Linked DNA regions of Homo sapiens: region 1 is linked to region 2. The links are contacts of gene promoters, found by promoter capture Hi-C in blood cells and fetal thymus (Javierre and others, 2016). All regions are on one chromosome and are shown on one strand. Each heading gives the region's core, a stretch centred on a gene start or on the middle of the fragment in contact. The rest is flanking DNA. Distances are from core to core; before and after follow the strand shown. Region 1 overlaps REXO2 (RNA exonuclease 2). Region 2 holds the start of ZW10 (zw10 kinetochore protein).

Region 1 (4,690 bases), core at 219-2,718, 670 kb before region 2:
ACCTTCAGAGAAACATTAACTTCCCTCTGGCAATGTCACCCTTTTAAAAATCCTGGTAGAACAGGCCTGGTCTCTTTAGAAAGTCAATGACACAGGGGAAAAATAATAGGTGGAAAGTTTTACATTAAGAGACTAAAGAAATATAACTAAATGAAATGCACGAGCCTTGACTGAATCCTGGTTCAAAAACAAATATTTTGGGGAACATCTAATGTGGACTAGATATCATATGATACTGAATAATGTTTAATTATCTTCAATGCAATGACATTGTATTACATAAGAAAATGTCTTTATCTTAGGAGATGTTTGATGAAGTATTTAGGAATGAAGTGTCCTGATGCCTGCAATTTCCTTTAAAATGTCCAACAAAAAATAGGTAAAACAAATACGACACAAGGTTAACAATTACTAAATCCACTCCTCTGTGCATGTGAAATTTTTCCATCATAAAAATATGGGAGAAATTCTTATTGAGTAAGTTTGTGTTTCCCAGATCTCATGTCAGGTTTCAGGGCATTTTCCCAATACTCATGCTATAAACTACACAGAGAAACTTGAACAGAAAAGTTAAGATGTGTAACCCAAAGCAGGGTTAAGTGGAAGACATGGATGGGCTCGGCTAGTCTTTCTGGAACTGCAGTCTCTTGAACCACTACATATGGAAGACTATAAGATATACACAGGATTGGATTTTACCTGCAAGTGGACAGAGCCCTGGAGGAGTCTGCTGTCGTACAAAGGACAGAAATTCATACTCTGCCTGCTGCAATGTAATTGTACTCTCCTTCACTGCCTTGGTAAGGCCAGACTGCAAGAGAGAATCCCCAGCCCCCCACCAAAAACACATGTAAAGTCAGTTTTCAAAGGCATCCAGAAATGAAATTTCACTTTTAAAATGGGCAAATATAACCACAAATAGACCATTTTTAGAGCTCAAGTTCAAATTGCAACTGCCATCTTTGCACCATTTTTTTTTCTTCAAGAATCCAAGCCAACTTAGTTATGATCCTGACTGTTAATAGCATGTCCACAGTCAAAAAAGACGGTGTTCAAAGTCCAAGGATATTAACCTCTGGGAAGAAACAACTATTAACAGGAGAGCAGCAATCCCCCTTCTCTGAAAGTTGATGTCTAACCTTATCCAAAAGACTGACTTGAGTAATACTTGACAATCCACAATGCGTTCGCGACAGACTGAATGTAGGAGAGAAAAAAAAGAGGACATTCAGGAGAAGATGATCTCGAGAGGTCCCAAAGATGAAAAGTAAACAAGCAAGCAGTTTCCCAGGCTTGCCATGCAATCTTCTCTAAGCCTTTTTAAAATACCATCCAACAATGGTATCGGATTCAGGTGTGGGAGCAAAAAGCTTGCTACTGATCCCCAAAGCAGCAATCCTGTTATTTGGTAATGTTACCTTCCCGTGATGCTCCTTACACCAATCTGACATGCTGTCCAGCAACTCATCTGGTTGTTTTATAATCAGGTTAGGACCCTGTGGATGGGAAACGCCATCAGTCACCAAGAAACAACAGGAATAACCTTACTTTCAGAGGGAAAGCTTAAGCTGTTTTAAGGACTAAATATACATATCAGAGAAAGTAAGAGATAAGGATACTTTAAGTGTTCCCCCTTCATTCCAGCACTGTTCATTAAGGCAAAATAGAACATACGAACATACACACACCACTGAAAACTCTAATCCTACAAATAGATGACACAGATATCTATCAAGGGTCAGCAAACTATGGCCCCACACTTCAGCTATTTATTAATAGCTAGAAAGCTAAGAATGATTTTTACATTTGTAAAAGATTGTTTAAAAAAAAAAAAGAACATATGACAAGAACATATGACTGCACTCAAAGCCTAAACAATTTAATAACTTGCTCTTTCCAGAAAAGTCTGTCAACCCTTGATTATGAGTTCATTTTGAAAAGTGTCTAGGCCAAGCATGGTAATCCCAGCACTCTGGGAGGCCGAGGTGGGAGGATCACTTGAGGCCAGTAGTTCAAGACCAGTCCAGGCAACATAGCAAGACCTCATTTCTACAAAATTAAAAAAAAAAAAAAAAAAATTAGGTGGGCCTGGTGGCACACCCCTACAGTCCTAGCTTCTCAGGAGGCTGAGGCAGGAAGATCACTTGAACCCAGGAGTTCGAGGTTACAGTGAGCTACATGCCACTGCACTCCAACCTGGGTGACAGGGTGAGACCCTATCTCTTAAAAAAAAAAAGTATCTATATTGCAGGTGAAAAAAACAATTGCAAAACCATGTATGTATAGGTATGATTTCATTTACACTTGTTTTAAAAAAAACACGCATTTATATAAACATACAAAATATCAAGACAATACATAAACTTGGAGTAAGAAGGAGCAATAGAACAGGACAAAAATCCAATAGTTCACTACACACATACTTTGGATAGTTACACTGTTTTAACAGTATTTTTATATTTAAAAAAAAATTAAAGAGGTAATTGTTGATATCCAAAACACAAAGTAGCCCTCAAATTCTCAGCTCCATTTCATAGAACATCCAAGTATGAGTCTCTCAGATAAGTCCTGGCAGTTAACAGTAGCTACGGCATTAAAGCAAGTCACCTCAGCTTCTCCCTCTGTAAGATAGTGATAATAATAAACTGTACCCCTTCCCTCATAGAAATGTTAACAGGATAAAAGAAATTATAGATATGAGCTCTTTGAACTCTCTGATAGAAAAGTATTCCATAAATCCAAGGTATTATTACTACTAAGGTGGTAAAAACAGTTCACAATCACTGAAAGAAATGGCTAGAATTTAATTAAAATACGCCTGACATCCTACTACTAAAAAGGAGATTTAGCCAAACAAGAAAACTGGTGTTGGTAATCTCTGCGAAGAAACAAAAAATTTTGCTTGGATAACAGATGTTTTATGATAGTCACGAAGGAAAAAGAAAACCCAAACCTATGAAAATGAAAAAAAATACTCATACTATTAAAAAAAATACTAACAATGATGGAAAAATCAAACTACTACAAACTATTTTAGATCCCTATTTAGCAAGCCAAGGGACCACACCTACAGAAAAATTTTCAGAGTAGGATGCCTGCTCTTCTACCAGCATAAAACATTTTTCTCAGACTCTTATAAAAGAATAAAACATACTGCAGAACTGATAGCCCCTAAGCTTTTTTTTTTTTTTTAACATCTTTATCCTCATCTGACTTAGTCCATTTACAAATGCTGCATTCATCTGCAGCTGTGTGAATACATACCCAAATTTCCTCCAGGGTACATATCAACCTACGGGTCCATTAAACTGTCAGTATTTCACATTATATCAACAGTCTAAAGGAAACACTCTTCTTCGGCCAAGGGTAAGTTAGACTGGTAAAATAAAGACACTTCTCTTCACTATTGATCTCCAATAAATCCCAAGTAACAGAAAAAAACAACCAAATCTAAAACTCAGGGCTTTATTTATACAAAGTTAAAAAAGTTGTTATGATGAGAAGTACAAAGTCTCATGATTCTCCTACAGTTGATATGTGGGGAGGATAAGCCTGGTACTCCACAAACGCAGTCATTAATCTAGAAATACGTCCTCACCTCTTTTACCTACACAGCAAAACAAACAAAAGTGTTAACTGCAGATTTACGAAATGTATCCAGTGCCAGTAACATATCAATGCTACCCTCTAGGAACTTATTTTAACAAGACTCTCTTTTCCACAAACATCCCTACTTTGTTCCTATTCTGGAGTTTCTGGCTCTGAATACTGCTGACAGTATAAAACAGAATTATTCAGGGTCAGGGATTTCACCCCCTACCAGATGGTGTCACATCCTTATTAAATGTTTCATGAGTGGCTGAAATGCAGCAGGTGTGTTTTGTTTTGCTAAATGTTTCAGTTGGAAGTAGCATGCAAAAACCTTAATCATGCCCAATCTGTCAACAACAGAACACTTTACGGGTGTGCACTAACAGAAATTCTAAAATCTTAATACTGATCTAGAAGAATCACATGTCCTAGTTGAAAAGGCAGAATTGTAAATATGGAGTCAAGTTAAAGTCAAGGTTATGATATAAAGACGCAAACATTGGCACGAGTCACCAAATCTGATGGGAGGACAGCTGGCTGTCCTACTTGTTAGGAGCACCTTACTGAGACAGCCTGAGTTAAACTCTTGGCTCCCCCAGTAAACAGCCACTGGGACCTCAGACAAATTACCCAACATCTCTATGCTCAAGTGTCCTCATCCATCAAATGAGCATTATAACAATAACTAACTTATAGTTGCTGTGAGAACTAAGAACAAAGACATATAAAGCACACAGAAACTGTAGCTGGCATACAGTAAGCGCTCAGTAAACGACAGAATTTATGTTTCTGTAAATTTCTGGCATGGTTAATTAAAAAATAATGTTTAATTTTTAATTTTCACTAGGCTGTGAGATGGATTACTTTGGTTCTAGTACCACCCCTACCATGACCTAGCACATTACCTTAACCCATATAGACCTCAACTTTCTTATTTTTTAAATAAAGAAGCTGGAAAAAATGATGGTTATATTTCCAGTGCCCTTTAAAAAGTATGACTGTATTACATGGCATCACGTACTTCAGCCAAAATGTTGAGATCAGAGTCAGTTATCAGACAGGCCATCTCAATAATCTGGTCCTTCTCAATGTCCAATCC
Region 2 (5,118 bases), core at 1,872-4,371:
TTCAAAAATTATCCACTCATCCCAATCTTGCTTCATTTCTACCTGCACCCAGCCCTTCCCTTTCATACTATTTTGAAGCAAATGGGTTGCTTTTTCAAATTTTAAGCGCCTTATGCTGCTTTTATAGCAACATGATGGCAAATACTGTGCAAACGTGGAAACGCTGTCTGATTGTACTGTCCTCTACCAGAAATATGCATTCGCTACTTTGCTTCTTGAATACAGGTATGTCATGTGTATGTGAGCCATGATAGGCCAGGAGGAATCCTTTCAGACTTTGCTCCTGACTTCCTTGCCTTTTCCTGATGATTTATGAACATCTGTGAATTGGGAGACATATAAGCCATGATAAATGTGAACTATGAAGAAGGTGAGGTTAATGAGGGAATACAGAACACATGCATTTATTAATTTCTTTTTTTAAATTCAAGTATTCATTCATTGCTGCATGCATTGACTGTGTGTAGCCATCACATTCCATGCTGCACGCTCTTTCTTCTCCTTTCTCAGCCTAACTCTGGCTCTTCCCTGACTTTTCCTTGGACCTTGAGGAACAGTCTTCACCTTACCCAGTAGTCTCTCTGCTCAGGAAGAAGCAAGAACTTAGGCAGTTGTGTTTTGTGGGTCTGTACACACAGGTTTTCTGGAGGGAGGTCCCAGAACCTCAACCTCAAAGTAGCACTTCCTTTCATTCTCACTTCAGATTTCTCATTACCGTTGTCAAAAGACAAAATTACAACGAGTTTAGTTTAAAGATCTTAATTCACTTTATTTGTGATTCTAGAATCAGGCAACACTTCATTCCATAAAGTAGAATCAGTGTCCCGATGAGCTGAACAGATGAGGTTGGTTTTATAGAAAGAAAAAGGCTGAAGAAAGGAGACACAAAGAACAAAAAGCAGATTGGCTGTTTCAAATTTAATTTCCTGGTAAGGTGGGAACTGAGAAACAGAACAATAGAAAAATAACTGATTGATTGGCATCAGTTTAGTTCAGGTACTTTTTTGTAAGAATTAAAACAGAGGGAACTTCGTTATCATGAAGACTGAAACTGGCAGGTTTGGGAATTTGGTGATTATCTCTCATTCTCCTGATTTCTCAGAAGGTCAGACAGACAGCTTAGTTTTGGTTTGGCGAAGTAGAGCTTTAGCATGAGTGACTCCATTTTGGTTTGGTCTGTTGGGCTTAGTGCAGGAACTCAGTCCAAAGTGATGGCCTCCTGTAAATGTTAACATTGTGAAACCTTTCTAATTCAGTCAGAGACTGGGTGCTCTTCCTCCAATATTTCCTCTGCCATTTGCATCTTCCTCAGGGGCAGATTAAACTTCACAGCTCATTACTTGCACAAGCCCCTTCTAAGGCTGACATCTAATTTTGTATTCATTATTTTATATTCTTTTCTTTAAAGAGTCCTTCCCCTCCCTGCAACTGTATAAGATTTAAGTTCCACTAAATCTAGATCCATCCCTCATCTACCTACAAATTAGTAATTATCATATTTTTCTGTGATTATATATTCACATGTTGTGGGTCCCCAGACCTAGCACAATGTCTGCTATGTGATAATTGCTTAATAAATATGCAGTACAAAGTTTCAGAATTTTCATCTATCAGTCATTCTTTGTCATTGGGCATTTATTATTAGTTGCAGTTAGAATTCAAAGTTGACAGGTCTACCAAAAAGAAATTGATTTGGTTTTCCAAGGAAGGGAGTTTCTCAGGATGTTTTGGCTGTTTTCAGTGCTTCCTCTCTCAATCCCAGTTTTGTTTCCTTTGCTCATGGCATGTGAATTGGCCCTTGCTTCACTGGGATAAGCAGATTGTCTCAAAGACACTTAACAATTGTCAGGGATCTTAGAGTCAGTGCCTACTTGGGGTCAACCCTCACAATATATCTTTTTAAAAAACCAAAAACCTTTTAATCAAAACAGTACATCTGGCTCTTGGTATCCACGGATCCAACCAACCACAGATCAAAAATATTCTGGAAAAAACTAATAAAAAATAACAATACAACAACAAAAAATAATGCAAATCAAAATACAATATAACGACTCTATAGCATTTAGATTGATTTGTATTAGGTCTTATAAGTAATCAAGAGATGATTTAAAGTGTATGGGGAGGATGTGTGCTGGTTACTTGTAAACATTACATCATTTTATGTAAGAGACTTGAGCATCCACGGATTTTGCTACTGGGGCAGGGGAGGTTTCTGGAACCAATCCCCCCATACCAAGGGAGGACTGTGTATGTTTACTGCAGAAAAATAGAGAAAGCAAGGGCAGAGAAGAGAATAAATACCATAAATCCACCACCCATAGGATAATTTGATGTCTGTCCTTTACATACATACTTACATACTTTTTGTTTTCTGACCAATGGTTATACACTTAAGTTTTTAAAAAGGAATCATAGTATACATAGAATATTGTGAACATCTTTCTGTATGCAATGCATTAAAATAATGAAACCATTTTTAAAAGCTTTTGACACATTTATATATTTATAATATGACAGAAAGTACTAAGTATCTTGTTCACACAGGACTAATATTATGTATATCTAAGTAATATAAATATGTAATGTAGGTAATGTAAATGTGTAATGTATCACGTAGATGTAATATATGTACATAGATGCAATTATAAGCAACCTTTTATTTATAATGAGGTGACGCCACTTCTTTACACAACTCTAGAGGGCGCCATTCGTAGATTCTGGTGCCACAGCGGCCCAATAAAAGTTGAGGAAAAAAGATCGAGATGGGCTCGTTGGCTCTTTCAGTTAGATAATTTTACAAGTAAGCCTTTTGAAGTTTAGAAAGGTTCAGTTAGACCTGGTTATTAAAAACGTTTAATTTCCTCCAGTGAAAAACGGGCGGGAAGCAACGAACTTTGAAAACAACTAAGGAAGAAAACGCGTCTGCTTACAGTTTGCCAACTACGGGACACCGTGGAAATCCCATCTCGGGATTGGCGCGGTGCCTGCTGGGAGTTGTAGTGCGCCCCTCGCCTTCCGGGCGGCGGTCTGAGGCCCGCGAGACTCCGTTTCCCGGCAGGCCTCGCGTCAAGACGGCCGGCGGGACGGGAGCTGCGGCGCTGGCTACGAGAGTGACCCAGTCAGCGTTGGTTCCCGTCTTGGCCATGGCCTCGTTCGTGACAGAAGTTTTGGCACACTCCGGGAGGCTGGAAAAGGAGGATCTGGGGACCCGGATCAGCCGCCTGACCCGGCGGGTGGAGGAGATCAAGGTGAGAGCGGGGCAGCTGTCTGCTGACTGGAAGGGGACTCCGGGTCCTTGTGTGAAGGGACTGGAGAGAGGAGTCAGGGGCTAAGGGCAGACAGAGTGGGGACCAGCAGAGTGGGGCCTGTTGGGGAGATCTAGTTGTGGGGGCTGAATGAGGAGTGGAGGGGCCCAGAATGTGTGGATTGAGGAGGGATCTTGGAGGGGAGCCCACACAGGGGTTGGGAACTGAGGAGGCGAGGAGACCTGGGACTGTGGGGACGAACAGGCGGTGGCTGGAGAGCACTGGAGAGTGGAGTTATGTTGGGGAGGGGTGTGCCGCGGGAAGAGGGAGACTGAAGAGACCAGCAGAGCGGGAGGAGCAACTGGAAGCTCCGAGGAAGCTAGGGAGCGAGCGCAGGAGAGGAATAGAAAAGACAGGATCCCCCTTCCCCTTCTTCCATCGATGAGTGTTTATTTCCTCCACCCACTCCTTGATTTGTTGATGAATAAAATAGCCTGGAGGATTGCACCTTTCTCCTCCCCGACATTAAAAAAAAAACAAACCCAAACCCTCAGTATGTTTTTATTTTTATGTATCTATCTATCTTTTGAGATGGAGTCTTGCTCTGTCGCCCAGGCTGGAGTGATCTCGGCTCACCGCGACCTCTGCCTCCCGGGTTCAAGCGATTCTCCTGCCTCAGCCTCCCGAGTAGCTGAGATTACAGGCGCGTGCCACCACGCCTGGCTAATTTTTTTTTTTTTTTTTTTGTATTTTTAGTACAGACGGAGTTTCACCATGTTGGCCAGACTGGTCTCGAACTCTTGACCTCAGGTGATCCACCCGCCTCGGCCTCCCAAAGTGCTGGGATTACAGGTGTAAGCCACCGTCTCCGGCCTCTTAATGTGGTTTTAAAACTTCATCTACAAGCACATGAAGCTGTGCTGAGTGTCATTGGTACCTACGTAAACGTTGCTGCCTTGAGATTGATACAAAAACTGGAAGCACGTAGCCACACACAGTTTTGCTTTGTACTGATATTGTTACCTTGCCAGTATTTGTCCACATCTTCAGTTGCTTTCATTTAAAATTTTGTGTATCTGAGTCAAGTAGGGTTTCGAGGGAGCAAGTTTGCCACACACCATAAGGGCACAGGTATAACCCTTCCTAACAGCTCTTGATTTTACAAAAGTAGTTTCCTGAATTTTAAGTAGTCATATCCCTGACATCTCTTCTTTAATATGGCTTTCGGATTTTTCACCACTGTTTAATGTGATGGAAAGAGGACAGGTTTTTAAGTTACTCTAGCATGGCAAGCGACCCTAGCTCCTGCGTGTTCTGGACCCAACATGCCTTTCTTTGCTTTCACTAGTTTCCTTTACCAACTTGAATCTTCAGCCAATTGAGAATTACTTTCTCTGCTCTCCCTCCCTTTTTTAATCCCATATTTTGCTTATGTTGCCATTTTTCCATCTTTACCTGTAGTATTTTTCAAACCCATTTTTCAAGTTCCATTTCAAATGTCTCCTGCATAAAAAAAAATCTTTATCTTCCCTCAGGGAGAGGGGATCTCTTTCTCATTTGTGCTCCTGGAAGGCTTTGTAACTTTGTTGCTGTATTACATTTCAGTCCTGTATTCTTGTTGCTCAAGTATATAGTATCTTTACTACGTAGGAATTTGAGGGCAAGCATAATTTGTTCTTTTTTTTAATTCATGTATTTATTCCTCTGTCAAAATAATAATTTAACAAAATTAGCCAGGCGTGGTGGTGTGCGCCTGTAATCCCCAGCTACTCTGGAGGCTGAGGCAGGAGGATCGTTTGAACCTGGGAGGTTGAGGTTGCAGTGAGCCGAGATTGTGCCACTGCGTTCCAGCCCGAGGGACGGAGTGAGA

What was found. The method cuts DNA at HindIII sites, captures the fragments that hold promoters and counts their contacts. A CHiCAGO score of 5 or more calls a contact.
Region 1: a contact is called between a fragment that was not itself captured here and the fragment with the promoter of ZW10 in region 2, in 5 of 17 cell types (fetal thymus, non-activated CD4 T cells, total B cells and 2 more). The highest score is 7.7, in fetal thymus.

What each region holds. Positions count from the first base shown.
Region 1 is chr11:114,440,662-114,445,351 of GRCh38, reverse strand. It overlaps REXO2 (RNA exonuclease 2), which reads right to left. Exons shown (of 7, transcript NM_015523.4): 2 at 4,613-4,690; 3 at 1,419-1,496; 4 at 700-811. Among named protein-coding and RNA genes, the nearest start is that of REXO2, 3.5 kb to the right of the region's middle. The HindIII fragment of the contact is 192 bases long and covers 1,373-1,564 here.
Region 2 is chr11:113,771,695-113,776,812 of GRCh38, reverse strand. It overlaps ZW10 (zw10 kinetochore protein), which reads left to right and starts at 3,121. Exons shown (of 16, transcript NM_004724.4): 1 at 3,121-3,251. The coding sequence starts at 3,147. RefSeq lists enhancers at 2,931-2,990, 3,121-3,390. The HindIII fragment of the contact is 9,750 bases long and covers 2,489-5,118 here.